3 separate regions of the Homo sapiens genome follow, and regions 1 and 3 are each linked to region 2. The links are contacts of gene promoters, found by promoter capture Hi-C in human tissues and cell types (Jung and others, 2019). All regions are on one chromosome and are shown on one strand. Each heading gives the region's core, a stretch centred on a gene start or on the middle of the fragment in contact. The rest is flanking DNA. Distances are from core to core; before and after follow the strand shown. Region 1 overlaps ESD (esterase D). Region 2 holds the start of MED4 (mediator complex subunit 4). Region 3 holds the start of RCBTB1 (RCC1 and BTB domain containing protein 1).

Region 1 (3,293 bases), core at 716-3,215, 1.3 Mb after region 2:
ATAGGCTCAGGTTGGTTTAGATCAGTATGCTAAATTGACCACATTCTTTCTTTAAGGGACAAGTATATTCGTTAAATGTTAGTGGAACCACTTATTTTGAACATTAAATAACTTATTTTGGACCTTTAGTATATATCTTACTTTTTATATAGTGCATAATTATTTTGTTTCTGTATTGATTAATGAGGGGCATTAATATTTTGTTGTTGTTTTTGTTAAAACTAGTGTTGAACTAAACTGCAAAATGAAATTTGCTGTCTACTTACCACCAAAGGCAGAAACAGGAAAGTGCCCTGCACTGTATTGGCTCTCAGGTAAGTATTATGCATTTGAGTTTTATAAAGTCGTTTCTATTTTCTTTTTAACTGGCTTATCTTACCCTTTTATTTTAACTTGGTAGGCTTTTTGAGCCATTTATGAAAGACTTTAAGGACCTGTCATAGTCTACTCTGTTACTTTTATCCTCAGAATAATTTCAGACCTACTGAATTATATTTATTTCATATATTTTTCTAATAGACCAAGTAATTTAGCAGAGAATGTAAAGTTCTGTACTCAATAGCAAGGGCTTAGAAAACTTATTTACTTAATTTGGACCTACCCAAGCATTTCTGGAGTTTATAGAGACTTTACTAGTCCATTAGAACAATATTAGGTGAAATCAGGACACCAAGATACTCTAATTAGAAACCAGCTATTGTAAAAAGTCAAATAACTTACAGTGTTCTCTAAAATATTTTAACTGGACTCCATAGAGCTTCTCTGACAACAATCTGGAAAGTCACAAAAGAACGCTAAGGCTTCTCTTAATCAGTGTTTCATATTAACTACTGTAGAATAGATTGTGAAGAGTAAGATTTTGACACCTGCAGTTTTGAAACCTCTATGCTAACTTTTCTTTCACAAGACGCTGGTACTTCATCTTCAGAAGCAAACATAAGGAGAGAATCCTAGCAACTAAATTGTGTCACAGAGTACTATTTTAATTTTGTTTCCTTCAAATTGGTTCCTGTAACTTTGATTTAACAAATCCTCCCTCATGTGTGTTTCATCAAGGACAAGTCCCAAATACCAGTCTTTGAAAATGAGAATAAATATTTCATCTTAAAGGGTAAAGATTAAGTGCATATCTGACTTTAACTCAAGAAAACATTTCTGTGATTGAATGAAGAGCACTGATTTTGCTAGAAGAGCATTAGGTATTGCTAAAAGCAAGAGCAACAAAATTAGTTATTTAATTGTCTTAGAAAATATAATATTGTATAGCTAAAAATGATCTTAGAAATCATGTAATCCCTAGAAAGAAAATGAGGCCCAGTGAAGCTAAATATTGTCCAGGGTCACACGCTAATGTGGAGTTGAACAAGTTTTCTGACTCACAGTCCAGAGCTGTATTTAGTTTTTTCTCCTGTTGTTTTTGCGTTTTGTTTCTGGTGAGGGGTACTATAGTCATATCTCTTGGCTAAACAATAATAACCAGAAGCCCTGAGGCATTGTGTCATAGGTACTCTAATAATAGGGCCCTAAGTTTTAACTAAAATTGAATCTAGCAAGACATATCTGAGCTTTACAAGTATAAAATACAGAATTTTTGTTTGTTTACATCAAATGACAGGACAGTTTCCTTAGTGAGATGCTGAAGAACAGATAGACCTTGGAAATTAAGGCTTGATTTTCTGAGTAAAGGTAAGATTGCCTGACCAGTGCACGTGAGAAATGGTGACAAAAAAATTTCAGAAGGTTTACTTCCCAGCAAGTCTAAGGAAAACAATGACAGAAAGATTACACAATTATTATATAGCTAAAATAGAGAAATTAGCTGAAATCAAAACAGCCAAACTGAAATCTTAAAAGATAGTTCATGTGTAGTGATTTGTATCTTTCCCAAGTGAAGGTGACCATTGAAACAGCCCTTTATTAGCTGTGTACCCAATAGAATTGAAAACATGTCCATACAGAAACTTGCACATGAATGTTCATGGCACACTATTATAATAGCCAAAAAGTATAAACAAACCAAATCTCTCTCAACTGGTGAAATGATCAATAAAATCGATTGCTAGTTCATTCCTCACCATTCTCACATCATTGTAGTATTAGATACCTATAGTAAAAGAATTAAGTCATCTCCTCTATCATGACTGAAAAGCATGGAGCTAGGAAAAATAACAGAAACTTCTAAAAACTGAGGCTAAAACTCAATTTAAGGATGGCATATGGTCACCATTACTCTCTTTTTAGTTCAGTGAAGAATACAAAGATGATTAAGCTAAATTTTGTTGCTGAGAACTATCTGTATGTAAAAAAAAGTATTTGTATTATGAAGACCATAGTATTTGCTTATTTACTGTGAATATGTTTTGGTGCAGAAATAGTGCGATGTTTAATTAGCATATTTGATAACACTTCACTGGGGTTGTTTTAATATTGGGCTTATGCACCATATTGTCACTCTACAGTTTGAAAATTTCTGAATTCCCAAACACTCCTGGTCCAAAGGATTTTAGTAATTGAAACTTTAGTAGTGATTTTAAAAGGATAGTTATGGGATCACTTAACCTAACACAGTTCTTAGGTTAATACTATTACAAATTTTGTGAAAAAGTGAATTTTAGTGTCTTACTCAAAATTGTTTCTAAAGCAAAAAAAATAATAATACCAAATGAGCTTGTTTTCCTGTATTATAAACAGTTTAAAGCTTATAAACCATTCACAATATAGCATGAGATAATTTATTTTTAATAATTTCAACTTTTATTTTAGATTAAAGGGGTACACGTGCAGGTTTGTTATATGAGCGTATTGCGTGACATGGAGGTTTGGGGTATGAAAGATACCATCACCCGGGTAGTGAACATAGTACCTAACTGGTAGTTTTTCAGCCCTTGTCCGTCTCCGTCTCCCCCTGCTCTAATAGTCCCCAGTATTAATGGTGCACATCTTCATGTCCATGTGTGCCCAATAACAATATTTTTTATCTTCAGGTTTAACTTGCACAGAGCAAAATTTTATATCAAAATCTGGTTATCATCAGTCTGCTTCAGAACATGGTCTTGTTGTCATTGCTCCAGATACCAGCCCTCGTAAGTGTTTGTGGTCTAGATATCCTTTGTAAAAATCTAAATCTTTAAGACTGGTATAAAGTGGTATGATATATACATTATACAATTCATTTTATATTTTTGCTGTTATCTCTATTAACCTTTCAAGTGGCATCATGACTCCAAAATACCATGCTGTACATTTTCCTCATTGAATTTTACTCATGACATGGCCTTTATGAAAGAGGATAG
Region 2 (3,744 bases), core at 677-3,176:
AATATGACCCGTGAGAGTTGAGTAAACAAAACCAACACATACCGCAGAAGTTTGGCACCCTGGAAACTTAACATAAGAAATGATTGACTAGAGTACTGAGAGGCATGTTTAGAATGCAAGTGTAATGAACAAAGCTTCAATCTACTTTAGCCCATTGCCTGAGAATTGACTGCATTAACAAAAAAGGGTTAGCCAACAGCAGATGCAGGGAACGGTCAGAAAACAAAAGGTGACAAGGATCTCTTGCACTGTCTAGAGGAAAAGGTACCCTGACCTATGAACACAAATAATCCAATCTCTTGAACACAAATATCCCTACACTGTGGAGACACAAAGCCTCATGATTGTGTCATTAATTTTTAATCTATCCTTGTTTGTTCTGATCCAAGTTTAACAAGCAACATCCTGTGATAATATGGCTTCTCATATAGTTTTGTCTATGGGAAAAAGATATGTTTGGCACTATTACTTTTCATCGTAAGTGAGTAAATCAGCATTCTAGATTACGCAGCAGTTGCTATGAGTGAATTTATTTAACATGAATTTCTAAAAGACTTGTCAACTCTGGGTGCCCAGGAGTCAGGTTTAGCACCTCCAAAAAGACAGAGTAGAGGATGAGACCCTGAAATGAAAGGACTACAGGTACTACTACCTCATGGGAGTGAGGCAGTCCCAGACCATCTTTTATAATAGCAATATGGAATCCTCATTCCCAATAGGCTTGTAACTTTGCTTTTTTCTGGTAGAGAGTGATCCCTACTACATTGTTATCCCTAGGAAAAGTAGGCTAAGACGTATTTTTGCCTTTGACAACCAGTTCTGGTTTGGAATGTGTGGTACATCAATGACTTAAACTATGTTAATTAACTACTACTTATGTACTGTATTGGTTCCTTCAGTTCAATAATTAACCTGAGTAATGAGCAAAACATTTTGTTGGAAGATGTATGGCTATAAAGATGGATTATAGCAATGTGGAAGTAACCTAACTGTCCATCGTCAGATGAATGGATGAACAAAAGGTGCCATATGCATACAATGGAATATTAGTCTTAAAAAGGAAAGATATTCCAGCACATGCTACATCATGGATGAACCTGGAGGACATAATGCTGAGTGACATAAGCCAGACACAAAAAGACAAATACTGTATGATTCTGCTTATATGAGGTACCTAGAGTAGCCAAACTTACAGCAATGGAAAGTAGAATGGTGGTTGCCAGGGCCTGGAGAAGGGAGGGATAAGGAGTTAGCATTTAGTGAGTACAGAGTTTGTTTTACAAGATAAAAGGTTTTGGAGATGGATAGTTGCTCAACAGTATGAATGTATTTAATGCCACTGAACTATCCACTTAAAAATGGTTAAGGTGGGCCGGGTGCGGTGGCTCACGCCTGTAATTCCACCACTTTGGGAGGCTGAGGCAGGCGGATCACGAGGTCAGGAGATTGAGACCATCCTGGCTAACAAGGTGAAACCCCGTCTCTACTAAAAATACAAAAAATTAGCCGGGCGTGGTGGCGGTCGCCTGTAGTCCCAGCTACTCGGGAGGCTGAGGCAGGAAAAATGGCGTGAACCCAGGAGGCGGAACTTGCAGTGAGCCAAGACATCCGCGGCGATGCACTCCAGTCTGGGCAACAGAGCGAGACTCGTCTCAAAAAAAAAAAAAGAAAGAAAGAAAGAAAAAAAACCATTAGGCCCAGGAGAATCAGACTGCGTTGCCCCCACTGTTCTCAGTTCAGCTGTCGCTCCCAGGGTTTGGACCAGAAAGCCCTCGCCGGCCCAACAGATGGCGCCGGTGTCCGCAGTGCGCCTCCAGGCCCAAAGGGGGCGCTCTCGCCAGGCCTCTTTTTCCTCTCCTGGGTGACTCTTCCGCCTTCCGAGCCCGCCTTCTCGCCACGCACCTGCGTCAGCTCGCTCTGCGCGTGCGCCGGTGGCGGGACTCTGGGGAAAATGGCTGCGTCTTCGAGTGGTGAGAAGGAGAAGGAGCGGCTGGGAGGCGGTTTGGGAGTGGCGGGTGGTAACAGCACACGAGAGCGGCTGCTGTCTGCGCTTGAGGACTTGGAGGTCCTGTCTAGGTAATGCGGCGAGCCTGAGAGCCGGGCTGGAGCTGGGCCGGGGGACTGACCCCGGAGCCGGCCGGCCCTGCGTTTGTGCTCGTTCTCGGGGTTCGGCGGGGAGGGCCAGCTCGGGAGTTTCGGGTGCATGAGGGTCATGGACGTGGGGTCCGCAGCCCTCTGGCACTCTGGGCGGCGGTTTTTCCCGTTAGAGGGAATTTTAGTAATGATAAGAACTCGCGCGGTCTGAGCCTCTTCGTCCGCGGCCAGCCACTTAACATTTATGGAACGCTCCTTGGGGGCTCAGCATTGGGGAGACGGTAGTGAAGGGTAGACTGGATGCCAGCTGTCGAGAGAGAGACAGATGTGTAAACTGGCTTGGGGCCTGTTTTTATTAGAGGGCTGCGCTGCGGGGTACTGGAGCACAGGGACTAGGCACCTTTTTTGGTTGTAGTCAGGGCAGGCCCTCTGAAGAAAGTGCTGCTTGGGAAGCATGAGCTCGCCAAACTCACTAGGCAGCACAGATAGATGGAACAGCAAGTGCAAAAAGCCTGGCTTGGTGGAGTTGCAAGTTGTTTAGGATGGTTGTGTGTCAGAGATAGGAGATGAAATTAGATGTCGTTCTTCATATTCTGTCACCTTTCATGATAAGTCTTTCAAGTTGAAGCCTTCCTTGACTCCCTCCCATTGACTTGGATGGTAAATTATCTTGGTTCTACCTCCTAAAGTGTCGCTCCAATTTGCCCTCTCGTTCCAACCCCGCTGTTCATAACTCCTTCTTAAATGTAGCCTCCCAAACAGTTTTAATTGCCTCATGCTTCTGCACTTTATCCTTTTATATTGGCCGATACCAGTTTTAAAAGGCATCTTATATCACTTTTCTGCAGAAAAATTATATAAAAGCTACCTCATTGGTAGGTTTGCGTTGTCCAGTGAGGTAAAGTTCAAATTCTTTAGTCAGACTTCCACATCTTCAGTGCCATTCCCAGTCTACTCCCGATTTGGTGAATGATTCATATATCCTTCAGAATCCAGCTCAAATGTCACTTTTTCTATAGCCAACATTCTTTGACAGCTTTAGAATAAATCTTACCTGTTGTATTTTAAAATATACGTGATATAATCAGCACTTTATTTTTGGTGTAAATTTAGTCCTTGCCATCGTATTGCTACCAAGTTACCAGGTCAGCACAATATTTAATGATGGAAGAAAACCCGAAAACACCTAGACAGCAGAAATTAAATGGCTTATGTGTTTGATCCACTGTTTAAAATAAACTGTATTAGGGCCGGGTGTGGTGGCTCACGCCTATAATCCGAGCACTTTGGGAGGCCAAGGCGGGCGGATCATTGGAACTTCTTCACAGAATGAAGCTGCTCTGGTGGTGTGACTGGCTTCCAGAAAGGTCTCATGTGTTCACTCAGAGGTAGTTATGTGTACTGATTCTGTGATCTGTGAAGTTTGTCAGTCTCTGAATGTAATTTGTGTCTGGCTTGCATTTATGAAAATGAGAAGAAAAATCACGAATATACCTTACATATTTTTAGATTTAGCCTCTTTAAAAATAGTGGATTTATAACTTAGGATCTTTTTTTTTCTATTAACCTGATTATATAGCCTTTCGGGATATTTATTAGTTTATAAAATGTAATGCAAGGAGATAGTCTTAAAAAGTTGAAACACAGGTT
Region 3 (3,320 bases), core at 123-2,622, 1.5 Mb before region 2:
GAAAGATGAGTAGGAAACTGATGTGTACTTTGGAGGCTGTTGAAGAAAACCAGAGCCAAACAGTAGTTGAAGTGGTAAAAACATTTTATTCAGGAACTAGTGCAACAGGAGCGAGACCTCAGAATAGATACAGAACTAAGCTCAATTCTCTTATTGCATTAGTTTCTTAATACCTTTTTTTTTTTTTTTAATCATTGGCCCTGGTTTTCTTTAAGTGGGGGAGGTGGTGATTCAGGACATTTCAGATACAGACAAAAGAATGAACAAAGCAAAAAGGAGTAAAGAAACTTAGAGAAAAAGTAAATAATCCAAAGAAAGTTGAGTAGTCAAGGAAAACAAATTATTTGTAGCCAGAGCCTCCAGTAATGTTGGGGAAGTGGCAAGAGATGAGGGACGGTAGGACTTTTTTAATAATTCAAGTTACCAAAAGTGAAGTTATCTGGTGATATTTAGAAAATGAAATGTTTTTCTGTTTATTCCTAGGAGCTCAAATGGGAAAGGTAAGTGAACAAGTGGCTGGAATGCTATGCCAACAAGTTTGGATTTTATCCTGCAGCGCCAACTGGGAGTTCTCCGAGAGCTGTATGGTATTTTACAAAGGGACTGTAGTCTTTATAGGTGATAGGCTGGAGCAGCTCGTAGCAGTCCCTCTCCTGGCCTCAGTTTACTCGCTGGTAACACGAATCCGGTTGGACCAGATGCCCTCTTAGGTCCCGTCTAACCTCTATGGCATGCTTCCGAGGTACCTCTGCCTCTTTCCAATACCAGGACCTGTGCCTCATCTCGTCCTTCCTTCATACCTTTGTCCAGCTGCCACCTTCCCTAGTCCCTGGCCTGCCTCAGGTACTTTCAATCAGGAAGTGAGGGGCGGGGAGGGAGGGAGGCGCGTCTCCAGTAAAAACAAACTAGTCCCAGCTCCGCCGCCTTTCCTCCCAGGCAGCACCACCTGGGTGGTGCCCCGGGGCCAGACGCGCTCTAGAGTGGGCAGGGAGCCAAGTTTCTCGGTCGCTTTTCCGTCCTAGGTCTCTGGGGTGGTAGGCCGACCCTCCCCACAGCCAAGCCATCTCGGGGAGCAGAGCAGGAGCCCGTGCCTCGCGCGTTCCTGGTTCCTCAGACACAAAAGCCTCTAAGTCCCGGCAGCAGCCACCGGATTTCATGGGGACACTCCAGTGGCAGGGCCTCGGGGCGGGCCTGAGACGGCCAATCGGCTTCTAAAGAAGTCGGGTTGTAGGGCCCGAAGAGCAGGGTTTCGGCCGGGGCCGGGGCCGGGGCGGTGCGGGATGCTCGGCTGGGTAGCGTCCCGGGCGCGCGCTGCACCGGGTCACGTGAGGCGGCCGGGGCCACGTGACCCGGCGGGCCCGGCGCCCTGGCGCTCCTCCTCTTCGCTGCCGGTGGGCACCGCCGCTCGCTCGCACTTCTGCGCCCATTGGAGCTTCGGAGATCCCTGCGGTCCCGCGGGACGGCGCGGCAGCAGCTGACCTCGCAGGTAGCGTGTGGGCGCGGGGTCGAGCTCGCGGAGGCCTCTTCCCCCTCGGCCCTGCCCCTGCTTCCCTTCCCCGCAGGCCGGGCCGGGAGTGCCCCGTTACTCCTGTACCTCCCGCCTCCCTCGCTCGGGCTCCCGGGCAGTCCCTGCGGGCGCTGCGTCCGGGGCGAGGGATGGGGTCCCCGGCCCGGCCCCGCCAGCACCTCAGCTAATGTGCTCTCCTGCGAGGAGGAGGGAAGGATGGGGAGAGGCGAGGGAAAGTTTTCCCTGCCTCCCTCTCTTTTTTGAGGTGCACGGACTCGATTTTGCTCGTAGCTGAAGTCTGACTGCTGTGGGTGCCGTTTTACTGAGAGGAGATCTCCCCTCCGACTCTTCCTATTCTCTCTCCTTTCCAAGATCTTAGCATCTCTCCTTCGTCTCCTGAGAGTAGTGCTGTCACAAACCGTATTCTTTATCGTTTCCCTTTCCGACACAGAATCCACAAAGGCAGGGATTTTGTTAGTGAGGACTTTTATCCAGGCGTGCGGTGAACTCTAAATAAGTGACGTTTCCCTTGTCTGCCTCTGATAAAGTACCTACCTGCTCGGTTTAAGATGACTATCGAGCACGCTGTGTTCTGCTCGCATAAGTGGCCTTTTGTTTTTATTTATTTGCATGTAAGACACTTTCAAGCCATCTGCGGAACTCTGCAGCTGGGGATTACAATTTTATAAAGCAGTCTTGTAATAATGCTTTTAGAAAACCAGATTCATGATCTTCCTTGCTTTTGCCCTATTCTTTTTTTGGGAGGACTAAAAGCCCTTAGAGGACAAAAACTGAGTTTCTGAAACTGGTGTGTATTGTGGGCTAATAACATTAAAACATCAAAGTATATAATGCCGGAAGGAATGGAAAAATGATTGAATCCTGAGGGCAGTTTATAGGTGCTTTAAACTTTAGAGTACTCATTTCAAGTGAGCACTGGGTGAATTTCACCCGTTTAAACTGCTTTCAGGGTCGAGGATGTAACTGTATATTTGGATTCTATTAATATAACAGTTCATCTGTGGGATGGACTTTAATCCATTTAATCCATTGTGTGAATATCAGTCTATTTATTAATACTCTAGACGGGTCCTTTTTCTTCTACCCGCTAGTCTGTTTCTCTTGAAGAGGAAGCATATTCATCTTTAAAGAGATTTTTGCAAGTGATTTTTTTAAGTGTGTGATCCAAATGATAAAGTTCTGTGAACTTCAGAAAACAAGTAGCCATAAAAACCCAAAGCTGTCAAGCTTGTAGCTTTTAAAAAATGATTTGAAAATTTTAAAGCGTGCCCGTATGCTGCAGCAAGAACTTGGCTCCACCTAATATACGGGAGCTGGGAAGTCTGAAACAGTACCCTCCTTTTCCTGGGAGTCATTGTGGGGTAGATGAAACTGTGAAGGAAAGTGAGGACCTTTATTATGATGATGATATCCCTTCTGTGTGTACTACATTAAACAGTAAGTCATGCATAGGAAAGGAGGCTGGGGCCTCACAGAGTCTAGAATCTAGGCAGGGCATTCGGACACATTTCAAAATATTCTCTGGTTTTACAAAAAGTTAAAAATGTTACATATTGGCCAGGCGCAGTGGCTTACATCTGTAATCCCAGCATTTTGGGAGATTGAGGCGACAGATTACACGAGGCCAGGAGTTCAAGACCAGCTTGGCCAACATGGTGAAACCCCGTCTCTACTAAAAATACAAAAAATTAGCTGGGCGTGGTGGTGTGCGCCTGTAGTCCCAGCTACTCAGGAGGCTGAGGTACGAGAATTACCTGACCTGGGGAGGCAGAGGTTGCAGTGAGCCGAGATT

What was found. Contacts are between HindIII fragments. The study calls those that stand out against the background at their distance.
Region 1: a fragment that was not itself captured here is called in contact with the fragment with the promoter of MED4 in region 2 in 1 of the 25 tissues and cell types used here (dorsolateral prefrontal cortex).
Region 3: the fragment with the promoter of RCBTB1 here is called in contact with the fragment with the promoter of MED4 in region 2 in 1 of the 25 tissues and cell types used here (hippocampus).

Annotation. Positions count from the first base shown.
Region 1 is chr13:46,784,042-46,787,334 of GRCh38, reverse strand. ESD (esterase D) reads left to right here. Exons shown (of 10, transcript NM_001984.2): 4 at 226-314; 5 at 2,985-3,083. Among named protein-coding and RNA genes, the nearest start is that of ESD, 11 kb to the left of the region's middle. The HindIII fragment of the contact is 5,026 bases long and covers 1-3,293 here.
Region 2 is chr13:48,093,286-48,097,029 of GRCh38, reverse strand. MED4 (mediator complex subunit 4) reads left to right here and starts at 1,926. Exons shown (of 7, transcript NM_014166.4): 1 at 1,926-2,076. The coding sequence starts at 1,952. RefSeq lists a silencer at 2,423-2,717. The HindIII fragment of the contact is 12,809 bases long and covers 1-3,744 here.
Region 3 is chr13:49,583,610-49,586,929 of GRCh38, reverse strand. It overlaps RCBTB1 (RCC1 and BTB domain containing protein 1), which reads left to right and starts at 1,372. Exons shown (of 13, transcript NM_018191.4): 1 at 1,372-1,486. RefSeq lists a silencer at 1,139-1,848. The HindIII fragment of the contact is 9,086 bases long and covers 1-3,320 here.